Linked DNA regions of Homo sapiens: region 2 is linked to region 1. Evidence: promoter capture Hi-C in 16 types of primary human blood cells and fetal thymus (Javierre and others, 2016). All regions are on one chromosome and are shown on one strand. The core of a region is centred on a gene start or on the middle of the fragment in contact, and the rest is flanking DNA. Distances in the headings are between cores, read along the strand shown.

Region 1 (6,036 bases), core at 2,869-5,368:
TCTTTGGGAAAGAATGTGTGAAATTGTGTCATGTTAATTAAACCCTGCTGTGGTAGGCAAGTAAGAAGCTGATTTACATGGAGTATGACCAAGAATACACTCTGTCTCTAGAACTGCAATTTTTAAAAGATGGATGGGAGAAAAGCTGCACTTGAGGGCATTAGCTTTGTTTGGTACATTAAATGGAAAATGACTTTCTATTATCATTCTCCCTCCATCTTTGTATTAGAAATTATGAAGAGAAGAATATGTTTTATTCACCTCCCTCAGTGTTATGCCATCCAGTGATGCAAGAGAAGAAAACTACCCCACTGCTGTTTGCTGTTTATTCTGCCCTATATGACTTAAGGGGGAAAATGTCTGCCTTTACCCTCTAAGATTGGACCAGAATGCATGCATCAAAATACGCTGACATATTCTGTCACACATGCTCACATATGACATATGTGAGTGCTGACAATGCAGCTTTTAGGGTCTAATCCAAACCTTTTCTTTGTCCTTCATTAGACTCATGGGAACAAGAGAGTGTTAACCTGGCCTCTCATTGGTTGCCTGGACCATTAGATGTAAAGTTACAGATCAGTGTTGGCTATGTTTTAGGGCAGGTTACATGAACCAGATAAGGAAAGACAGCCAATCTGCAGAGAGAAGATGATGCAAAAAGAGTAGAAACGAATAATGAAAAAATATGATATAGGGAGTCTTGAGGAGGTTGAAGGTTCTATTACTCTCTATTCTATGGACACATCAATAAAGGCGTCAGGTAAATTATTCTTCTGTTACCTTGGGCACATTTTAGAACAAGTGAGACTCAACCTAACAGCAGTAGCAAAAGAGGAGAAAGAAATCACCTGAACTAGACTGTATATACTTAGCTAGGGAAGGCACCACATTTAATTGTCCTGTGGACTCCTTTATGCCTGGTGCAAAAGTAGATGCTTAGTAAATACCTCCTGGGTGAATGAATGAGTATTTCATATGTAAGGGAAGTGATGGAAATTGTTGGAGTGGTATATGGATTACCTCTGTTCCATCAAGAGGCATATCAAGAACAAATATTTGAAACCTATAGAGAGACAATGTAGTATAACGGTTAAAGGAATGTGTGCTGGAGCCGGACTCAAACTGCATACCAGCTTCAGCACTTGCCAGGGATGTGATCTTAGGCAGGTAGGTAACCGCTCAGTGCCTCAATTTCCTCATTTGTGAAACAGGAATAATATTTACCTTAAATAATCTTTGTGAAGATTATATGAGCTAAAAATTAATATGTAAAGTAGAACAGTGCCTGGTACAAGGTAACTATTCTATGAGTAAAAACTGTAACATCTCTACTTAGCAGAAATCTAGACAATAGTACTTATCACCAAGTTAAATTTTGTATTATTCACTGATGTTTTCTCATCTATCTTCGTCCTGGCCTCCAGATCAATTTCTAAAATGTTGAACAAACAGGATAAAAAAGGGTCTCTGGAATCCTCATTTTTCAGGTGAAGAAACCAAGCCCCAGAGCCAGCAAGGGAGCTGTTCAAGGCCACTCCTGTCTTGGCAGAGCCAGTCCTAGAATTTAGGTCTACTTTCATGTTATTTTCAAATATTTTAATGAAAAAAAAAATTCAGCAATGAAACACATGTAAAATGGATACCCATAATTGAGATGCTTAAAGGTTTTAGGATAGGACTGCAATAATTGATTTTTAAGCTCTTATTTGGCAACAGGTAATCAAGAATTATAGCCCTCAGTAATTTGTAGAAGATTTGGGGAAATAATTTCTTATAGACATTAATTAATTGTAGTAGGTCCTGACTACTTTTTTTTTCTTGTCCTGTAACTTACATGAAATCGATGAAAATGTTTAGAGTAACATGAAAGAATAAATCACTCACTGTGATATCCAGGTATCTAAGAGTATAGTTTTTTACTATAAACAAACAGACAAACCAAGAAATATTAAAATCACCCCTTTACGAGAAACTTCAGTCATGAAATAGTTTTGAGGATTGTTCAGACTAATTATCTTTATAATGTAGGTCGTTACTTTTGTGGCCTGGCAGCATTCCTAATCTGGACAGGTGTTCAGAGTTCATGCATTTCAGTGTGAATGCTCATTTATAATAGACACAGCACAGGGAAAGTAAACTTCTACTGTTTTCCCTTACTGTCAGAACTGTTAAGCAATTAGAAATTCAAGGCATTCATTTAGTTGAGAATAGTGTTTTTATCCTTAATTCAATTTCCCTGATTTTATAGTGTATATAAATCACAAAGTATTTACATATAGTTTAAAAAAATATATTTTGCATCTTAACAAATGCACTTTTAAGGCTCTAATCACCAAAAAGCAGCTGAAACTCAATCAGGTTTCAAGGAAGTCATATAATCAGAGTCCCAAGATTAAAAGAAAAAAAATTGTAATTTCTTTACAGTTTTAAAATTTTGAAATGACAGGTAGACAATTACATATTTACATTTTAGCTTATAATAACTTCTTTAGCAGAATATATGGTTTAGAAAAAGAATCTCCAATGCCTGATTATCTCTTCTACTATATATTTTTTAACAAACTTTTCAGTTACACCAAAAATTAATATTTGCCTCAATGTTCAGAAATAATGCTTTTCTCAAGAAAATTAATTTAAAAAGAGGGTATATATAACTCCACCAAACTAAACTATAACAAATATCTCCAGAAAGAGATAAAAGTTTTATTTTATCTAAAACATTTTAGTAATGTAAGAATTCTTCATTTTAAAGACTATGAAGAAAATTAACTCATGTGACAAGCTCAAAATTAACATTATTTACACAAAGAAACAAATCTTCTGTTTTACCATCAAGATGATAAAGAAAAATGATAACAAAATTAGAAATGGTAGATACTGTGTTAACCAGAGAAAGAAAAAAAAGAGCTTATCTTAGGCAAGCCTCTTTATATGTTCAGTACTATTTTAAAAAGGAGCCTCCTTCAAACTTATATTTGAAATCTCCATCTTAAATATAATATTGATAGGAAGGTATGGATGAAGAAAAAGGGAAAAAAATTCCCTTCAGCTGAATATCGGATATTCTAGAGTTTCTCTGCCATATCATCCTGCTCTCTGGTGGTGAACAGCATTGCTCAGTAGTTGATAACATGAAATTTTCTAAGGGCAAAAAAAAAAAACAAAAAAAAAGTGTGTGTCCCAGATCAGTTGCACACATCTCAATATTTGATTTGTATTTTAATTTAATACAAATGTATTAAGAATGTAGCTGTTTGCATTGTCTAGAAGGGTTTTCTTCTAAACTCTTCCAGATTACATGTTGCTATATTTCAATATGTTTATAAAGAATATAGATACTAATACATTTTCGACATTAAATAACTCTGATGCTTAAACAGTATCCAGCTATTAGAAAAACTATTTGAAAAAGGATCTGAGTAAACCCCTTAAAGATGTAACTTTGCTTTTACCTGCCCCCACAAAATGGATATATTAAATAGAAGATATATCTGTTTTCTTTAAATTTAAAGTTTCTGTATTTGATACCTAGATTGATTCTTTCCATTTCCATTTAATTTTATTAATTGTATAGTTTTAAATAATGTCTATAAACTGCATCAAATAGAAAGCCTTTTGAGGATCATTACTGTGTAGATAGGCAGGTAGTTTAAAGTCTCTGATATTCCTTACAAAATTCTGTCAAGGCAACAGACATGTGTTCTGTTAAACAGATCTACTTCAGAATCATTATAAGTTGGTGAATATCTTAAACAATTACAAGAGGTCATTTCTTTAGTACCATAATCTTATGAAAGGGAAGCTTTAAAATCATCCCTGAATGAGACGGTCCTTTGTTTCACTTAATTTAATCAAAATACTCTATATTTCTTCTTCAAGAATAAAATGAAGCACTTGTTCAATCTTGAAATTTTTAGATTATTTGAAAGCAAAGTTGTTATCTCTTAAAAGCCCCTACATTTATGAGTGAGGCATTAATGCACAGTATAAATAAATAAATACACTTACCTGGAATTAAAGTTCAGAGCTGAAAATGCTTGAGAAAGTTGCAATAGATGGAAAAGAAACGGAAACAGTACCACTCGTTACCATCGGCTCAGGCTTTTTGACTTTACAAGTGGTAGCAACACCAGTCCTGGCCCAGTACTCTCATGTTATGTAACATCTTATTAATATTAGCCATCAAACTGCTACCAAGCTGGTGAGGCACTAGAGGGCAAGAGTGTCACATGCAAGACCCGTCGCCAAGGGACCGGCTTTGGTACCACTTCGGGGGAAGACAGATGCTAACTAAGCTGATGAATAACAGGATGCCCGAATACAACAGCAAACTTGTAACGTTCCTCAAAGAATATTTTACATGTCAATTTTCTGACTAGCGGAAGAGTTAACAGGTTAATAAATATGAGCAAGCAAATAACCACACCATGAAAAACTTTTAGGATTATATTTACAAACCCACAGTCACTCAAGAGGCTGTTTGTTTTTTTCTTTCCATTGTCTAAATAAACTTATTTAAAACAGGAGAAAAAAGCTGGTTAAATAAAACGAGTGTCGGTTTCAGGACTCCCTCATTCCAAGCCGCGAGAAACTTGTCTGGTCGAGATGCCGCCTCTGGAGTCCGCATTCCAAGGCGCCCGGATCGGGTTTCTGGGCGAGGAGACCGGCCCCGTCCTCCATGGAGATTACCTGGGGCTGCAGCCGTCCGCGGGCTCCTCCTTCCCTCGGGTCTTCGGCCTCAGCCGCTCCCCAGGGCCCCTCGTCCGGGTGGCGCTTGGGTGCTACGCGGTGCCCGGGGTCCGGCGGGGGCGACAAGCGGGCGACCTCTCCCCTCCGCGCCCGGGATCTGCGCGGACACAGCTGGTGGCGACTTCGGCCGCTCAGGCTGCGGCTGCGGGGCGAGCGCAGCGGGTGCGCCGGGGACTCCTGCGCTGGAGAACCACGGCCCTGGGACCCGCCCGGCCGCGCCTCCGCCGCCCTCGCCACCGCCTCCCGGGCGGGAGCCGCCGCCTCCCAGCTCCCGGCCCGCGCGCGCCCGCCCCGGGGAAGGGGAGGGAGCGGGAGCTGAGGACGGGAGCCGCCTCCATCGACCGGGCTCCCGCCCGGACCGGCCCTGAGGATCTGGCTGCCCGGGCCTCGACAAGGAGACCCCGGGGGTTCCGCCCCGGCCTGCCAGTTCCGACCGCCCCTCCCGGCGGGTTGGCGGCGGCCGCCAAGGATGAAACGTCTTGTGCGGCCAGGGAAAGGGGTGCGAGTCCCCGAGGCGACGCTGGAAGGGTGGGGCGCACCCGCGCGGTCCCTTCCTGTGGTGCTCCTGCCGTTGGCACTGGACCAGGGCGGCTGCGAGGCTGCAAGAGTTTCCTCTGTTCGCCAGTTTTTTTCAAATGCCATGTGTTTCAGCTCCTGAAGACAAGTGGAAGGCCAGCAACTGAAGAGATATTTTGGATTCAAGGTGTGAGGTTACCCTCTCCAGAACTATAGTTTGATTAGAAGTGTGAATCGAATGATATATATTTTTAAAAATTTCATTTGGTTCCACTAACATGTGAATTGTATTAAGTGGGGTCTACTAATGATACTTTGTATTGGCCATTTGTGGTTTTGCTTCCCAGCACTCACTCTTGTTGAAACAGTACTCCTGTTCATTTTGGAAGATCCAACCACTTGATCTCACCCCGCAGCCCATTTGCTTTAGGTGATGTCAGCCGCTGCTGACTCACTGGTAGACCCACAGCTCAGGTCTGGCCAGTGATGGCTTTCTGTCCTGGTAGCATGGGTAGGTATGTAACCCAGGTCTGGCCAATCAGAGAGAAAAACAGAAAAAAACCACCATTCTGGGACTTTTTTTTTTCCTTCCTCTCTTAAGAAAGTGGACTCTCTTCTACTGGACTTTGCATAATGAAGATGTGAGCTTAGAGCTTGAAGTCTGAAAATAAAGCTGATACTCAGGAAGGCAGAACTGAGAGTTGGAGAAAAGTGAAACCCAGATGGAGATTTTCGAGCTTGGAATCGAGCTGTAGCTGAAATAAGTTC
Region 2 (6,219 bases), core at 1,188-3,687, 230 kb before region 1:
CATGAATTTTGAGGTGATGGTGATCCAAGAATTTTGGAGCTGGGATTTTAGAGTAAGTGTTTGACATTGTGAAACATTTATAATATAAATTTATTGAAAAGTTTGGCAAGCAACATTGTGAGCCTTTTATGGTTTAGCCTGAAAAATTGGATTGCCTATGTGTTCTATGATCTCAAACTGGCCTCCAGCACTTTAAGAGTGAACGCCTGACTTGGTTGTAGAAGCTTGCACGTCAGTGAGATTCTGCACTTATGTTTCATTAAATATTTAACATCTCAAAAGCTTGACTTTTTCTTTCTTTCGAAGATGGCTTGTGGTACTTGCTTTAGTCTATTTCCTAGTGAGGCTTTTTTTTTTTTTTTGGGCTTACTTGCCTTTATGCAAAATAAGAGTGTTATTTATTTTAACATTTAATATGGCATATTAAAAGAGAAGATCTTGTTTTGGAGTATTCATAAACTAACAATTTAAAAACATCTAATGCTTTCATCCCATATCAATTAAGATAATTTGAAAATTTAATGATCACTTGTTAAAATTCTCCTTTTTCTACACACAATATAGATTACAGATGTCTTAGGATGTCAAACATTTACTCTAGTACCCCAGCTCCAAATTACTTTGGCCCATTATCCATAAGCATTATAAATATCTGTATTAGTGGGAAGATAAGCTTACGTTTATGTAAAACTTGATGGAACGAAACAAAATCACATGAAACAACAGTTTTTATGTGGCCACTAGATGGCTCTGTTACACTATTATTTAGGTATATGTTTAAATCCCTTTGAATTTGTTACCTTATTATTTAGGTATGTGTTTAAAGCCCTTTGAATTAAATACATTTGTTCATTGTGCATGCATGTATTAATGTATATGTGGATAATAACATGAAAATGTCAGCATATCTAGTATCTCTAAAAGCCTATCCTCTGGACTCTAGTTTTATATGATGAATGTCTACAGTGAATATTGAAAACTTCAGGTTCTACCAGAAAGGAACAACTTTCTCCAGATGCATATTCTAAACATACCATTGGAATACACCAGACCTTTTTAATATGTGAACTTGATATACAGATTTTTAACATACTGAATTCATCAATTAGAGATTTAATTCATTTCCTACTGTCTGAAGTAGTTAATACACTGTTAATGTGTTGTATATCAAACTAGACAATGATTCTGTTGGAGAAATAAAATATTTCTGCCCAGTCTACTGGAGGGCAAGAATGTAGTCATATTCATCTTACCTGCAGTAGTACTTTGGAACATGCTCAATGAAACGTTTGTTGAATGAGGAAGCCAGGATGATAAAAGTGAAAAAGAATTCTGGGAAATTATACATAATGTACAGAAGGAAAAATGAATGCAGGGTAGTACATTTAAGCAAAACTGGCAAACTTTTTTGAATGTAGCTTAGTATATTACGGCAAAGTCGACTAACTCTTTTGGCCTCAGGCACATCTTACCTCTCTCTTTGCCAAAAAGTTTAAATTAAGTCTCCCCGCTGCAATAGGACTATATTTCAAATTTTATAATGGAAATCATTTCAGAGAGAAAAATTCTATGGCAAACTTTGAAACTAATTCCTATTAGTTAGTATTTATAACTGGAATAGGTCTTCACTGTCTCTACCAAAAAATACAAAAATTAGCCAGGCGTGGTGGCAGGTGCCTGTAATCCCAGCTACTCAGGAGGCTGAGTCACGAGAATCACTTGAACCTGGGAGGTGGAGGTTGCAGTGAGCCGAGATTGTGCCACTGCACTGCAGCCTGGGTGACAGAGTGAGACTGCATCTCCAAAAAAATAGAAAATCAAAAACGTAAAATAAAAGACTTCAGATGCTATATAAGAATAAATCCAATTTAAGTTAAATGATGAGAGCACATAGACACATAGAGAAGAACAGTACACACTGGGCCTACCTGAGGGCGGAGGGTGGGAGGAGAGAGAGGATCAGGAAAAATTACTATTGGGTAGTAGGCTTAGTACCTGGGTGATGAAATAATCTGTACAACAAACTCCCATGAAACACATTTACCTTTGTAACAAACCTGCACATCTTGCACATATACCCCTGAATTTAACATAAAAGTTTTTTTAAAAAAACATGCTATGGCTGATACATGCTATAGATGAAACTCAGAACCATGTCACTAAGTGAAAAGAGGCCAGACACAAAAGACTACATACTGTATGAATCTATTGATATGAAATGTTCAAAAAAGGCAAATTTACAGTGACAGAAAACAGATCAATGGTTGACTGGGGCTGGGTTGGGGGCAGGGCTTATCTTCAAATGGGCATGAGGAACCCCGTCTATCAGCCTTCTATCTGGGTGTCAGAGATCTTCTGACATCAGATCGCCATGATGGCTATTCAATTCCATTAATGACTCAGCAGTTATGAGATGTACACTTCACCTGGGTGAGTTTTACAGTAGCTAATCATACACCCTCAAAAGGTCTATTTAAAAAGTCATAAATGAATAGATTAATTTCCACCTTCCTGGACAGTGCTCAACCAGCCTTTCCATATTCACTCTTTAAAGTTCACTCTGTCACCGTGTATTCTACCTGTAACCTGTTTCTGGATTCTGCATGCTAACATTGCGTTGAGAATTGTGCCTCTTTATTCAGGAATATGATTGGTCTATAGATTTGTTTTCTGCCATCTTTGTAAAATTTCAAACAAAAAGTTTAAAATAAATGTCATACTTACACTATAGAGAGAAAAATAAATATATTTCATCTCCAAATGAACAATCATTAAAAAAACCTTCAACTGAATATGTAAGACGTGTTAGTAGTTATTTCTTAATTATATAAGTAAAACTATAGAAAACTAAGTAGAATAGAACCAGATAAGTGACTTTTGTATTTCTCTAATTTAAAACCCTTTTATCAGGATGATAATTTATGTAAATGGGCAGTATTTCTTAGAAAACAGAAGGTCTAGAAAGAAATCTCTGCAATTGAGGACTTAAATTTGATAAAAGCCATACGAATTTTGAAATACCCACCATTCTTTATAGCACTGAACAGAACTTACTGAAAAGGACTAAGAAAGTAAATTATATAAAATAACACAAAAGGGTTCTGAAAATAATTATTTACAGTATCTTTTTTTTTTTTTTGAGAGTCTTGTTCTGACGCTCAGGCTGGAGTGCAGTGGCAGATTTCGGCTTACTGCAACCTCCGTCTCCAGAGTTCAAGTGATTCTCCTGCCCCAGCCTCCCAAGTAGCTGGGATTACAGGCGTACGCCACCACGCCTGGCTAATTTTTGTACTTTTAGTAGAGACGGGATTTCGCCATGTTGGATAGGCTGGTCTCCAACTCCTGACTTCAGGTGATCTGCTCACCTCAGCCTTCCAAAGTGCTGGGATTACAGGTGTGAGCCACTGCACCTGACTACAATTATTTACAGTCTCTAAGGGAGATAGTAGTAATGGTGATAACTAATGTTTATTGAGTACTTATGTGCTCATTAACTCATTTAATCCTAACAATTGTATGAGCGCTATACAATTATTGTCTCTAATTTACAGATGAATAGATTGAGGCACAGAGAAATAATGTAATTAACCTAAGGTTTGAAGTGGATTTGAATGTAGTCTCACTGGCTCAGAGCCCATGCTCTTAACTGGTGTTGTGTGTAAAGGGAGAAAAATGATACTAGGTATAAAATAAGTCTGAGCTTTGCTACTTGTGTGACCTTGGGAAAATTATCTATCCATTCCAAACCTGTTTCCTCATCTGTAGAAGGAAACCAGCAGTATCTTCCTTTTGGTATTATTGTTAGGATAACTTATAAGAATTATCTGGTAATTATCATTTAAAAGTTAGAGGTTTTGTTTTTTTGTCCTACATTTAATAATTATTTTGCTAATTTTAATTATTATTTAAAATTGAATTTATTTTTTGTTATTTAGAAGACAGTTTTAAGTCTTTGTATGATTGGGGAAATATATATTTTTGTTAATCGAATTTATTGATTTTTATGAAAAGTTATACTTTTTTCTAGCACTTAAATATAAGAACATATGTATGTTAAAACTGTCATGTCTTTTCCAGTTACTTATTGTGAAATTAATTCAACAAGTATTTATTGAGCACTTATTATTTCAGAGACTAGACCCATCGATGTGGGGATATATTGATGAAAGAAAAGACAAATAGTTTGCTTTCGAGAAGCTTATTCAAGTAGGAGAAGACAAAAGATCTAATAAAATTGGTAAACTACAGAATTAGTTATAAGATTTTAAGTGCTATGGTTCAAAAAAGATTAGTTCGGAGTAATAGGAATCAGGAGTCAGGGAAGGGAGGAAGGGGTGAAATTTTATGTAAGGTTGTCAGGGTAGGCCTTATTGAGAAAATGACATCTGAGCAAAGACTGAACTACAGTGTAGAAGTTAGCCACGTTGATATTTGTGGGCATGTTAACATGAATGTCTTAAATAAGATAGTCAGCAAGGGAGCCAGTGCAACTGTTGCAGAATGAGAGTTTGAAAAGAGGAGCTGCGGTTAGAAAGGTGATGAATACCACATCATGTAAGGCCTTGCAGGCCACTATAAGGACCGTAGCATAAAAAGTAGAGCTATTGCAGGAATTAAAGTGCTTTGATTTAATTTGTAAAAGGATTATGTCCGGACTTGGTGGGTTCTTGGTCTCACTGACTTCAAGAACAAAGCCACGGACCCTCCCGGTGGGTGTTACAGTTCTTAAAGGCAGCGTGTGCAGAGTTTGTTCCTTCTGATGTTCGGATGTGTTCGGAGTTTCTTCCTGGTCTCGCAGCTTGTTTTTTCCTTCTGGTGGGTTCGTGGTCTTGCTGGTTTCAGGAGTGAAGCTGCAGACCTTCATGGTGAGAGTTACAGCTCATAAACACAGTGTGGACTCAAAGAGTGAGCAGCAGTAAGAGTAACTGCAAAGAGCAAAAGAACAAAGCTTCCACAGCGTGGAAGAAGACCCAAACAAGCAGGCTGCCACTGCTGGCTAGGGCAGTCTGCTTTTATTCCCTTATCTGGCCCCACTCACATCCTGCTGATCGGTCCATTTTACAGAGAGCTGATTGGTCCGTTTTGACAGGGTGCTGACTGGTGCGTTTACAATCCTTGAGCTAGACACAAAAGTTCTCCAAGTCCCTACTAGATTAGCTAGACACAGAGCACTGATTGGTGCATTTACAAACCTTGAGCTAGACACAGGGTGCTGATTGGTGTGTTTACAAACCTTGAGCTAGACACAGGGTGCTGATTGGTGTGTTTACAAACCTTGAGCTAGACACAGGGCGCTGATTGGTGTATTTACAATCCCTTAGCTAGACAGAAAGGTTCTCCAAGTCCCCACTAGACTCAGGAGTCCAGCTGACTTCACCCAGTGGATCCTGTACCTGGACCGCAGGTGGAGCTGCCCGCCAGTCCCGCGTAGTGCGCCCGTACTCCTCAGCCCTTGGGCGGTCGATGGGACTGGGCGCGGTGGAGCAGGGGGCGGCGCTCGTTGGGGAGGCTCCCGCCGCGCAGGAGCCCAGGTGGGGGGAGGCGCAGGCATGGGTGGCTGCAGGTCCCGAGCCCTGCCCCGCGGAGAGGCAGGTAAGGCCAAGCAAGAAATCGAGCGCAGCGCTGGTGGGCCGGCACTGCTGGGGGACCCGGCGCACCCTCCGCAGCTGCTGGCCCAGGTGCTAAGCCCCTCAATGCCCGGGGCCGGCGGGGCCGGCTGGCTGGCCAAGCCGCTCCGAGTGCGGTGCCCGCGGAGCCCACGCCCACCCGGAACTCGCGCTGGCGCGCAAGCGCCGCGCGCAGGCCAGGTTCCCGCCCGCGCCTCTCCCTCCACATCTCCCGGCAAGCTGAGGGAGCCGGCTCCGGCCTCAGCCAGCCCGGAAAGGGGCTTCCACAGTGCAGCGGCAGGCTGAAAGGCTCCTCAGCGCGGCCAGAATGGGCGCCGAGGCTGAGGAGGCGCCGAAAGCGAGTGAGGGCTGTGAGGGCTGCCAGCGTGCTGTCACCTCTCAGGATTACCCTGGATGTTGGGTTAATAGCGGATTGTAGTACAGATACCTGGAAGTAGGGAGGATAACCAGGATAAAGATTATGGCATCTTTTTTTTTTTTTTGAGACACAGTTTTGCTCTGTCGCCATGTTGGAGTGCAGTGGCGCGATCTTGACTCACTGCAACTTCCGCCTCCTGGGTTCAAGTGAGTCCCCTGCCTCAGCCTCCTGAGT

The links. Contacts are between HindIII fragments. The CHiCAGO score rates a contact against its expected background, and 5 or more counts as called.
Region 2: a fragment that was not itself captured here is called in contact with the fragment with the promoter of NDST3 in region 1 in 2 of 17 cell types (megakaryocytes and erythroblasts); the score reaches 13.1 in megakaryocytes.

Annotation. Positions count from the first base shown.
Region 1 is chr4:118,032,568-118,038,603 of GRCh38, reverse strand. NDST3 (N-deacetylase and N-sulfotransferase 3) reads right to left here and starts at 4,118. Exons shown (of 14, transcript NM_004784.3): 1 at 4,012-4,118. The HindIII fragment of the contact is 5,573 bases long and covers 3,808-6,036 here.
Region 2 is chr4:118,265,157-118,271,375 of GRCh38, reverse strand. LOC105377392 (a long non-coding RNA gene) reads left to right here and starts at 5,343. Exons shown (of 3, transcript XR_939113.3): 1 at 5,343-5,592. It overlaps LOC124900765 (a long non-coding RNA gene), which reads right to left and starts at 5,425. Exons shown (of 2, transcript XR_007058244.1): 1 at 5,394-5,425; 2 at 4,605-4,925. The HindIII fragment of the contact is 3,524 bases long and covers 676-4,199 here.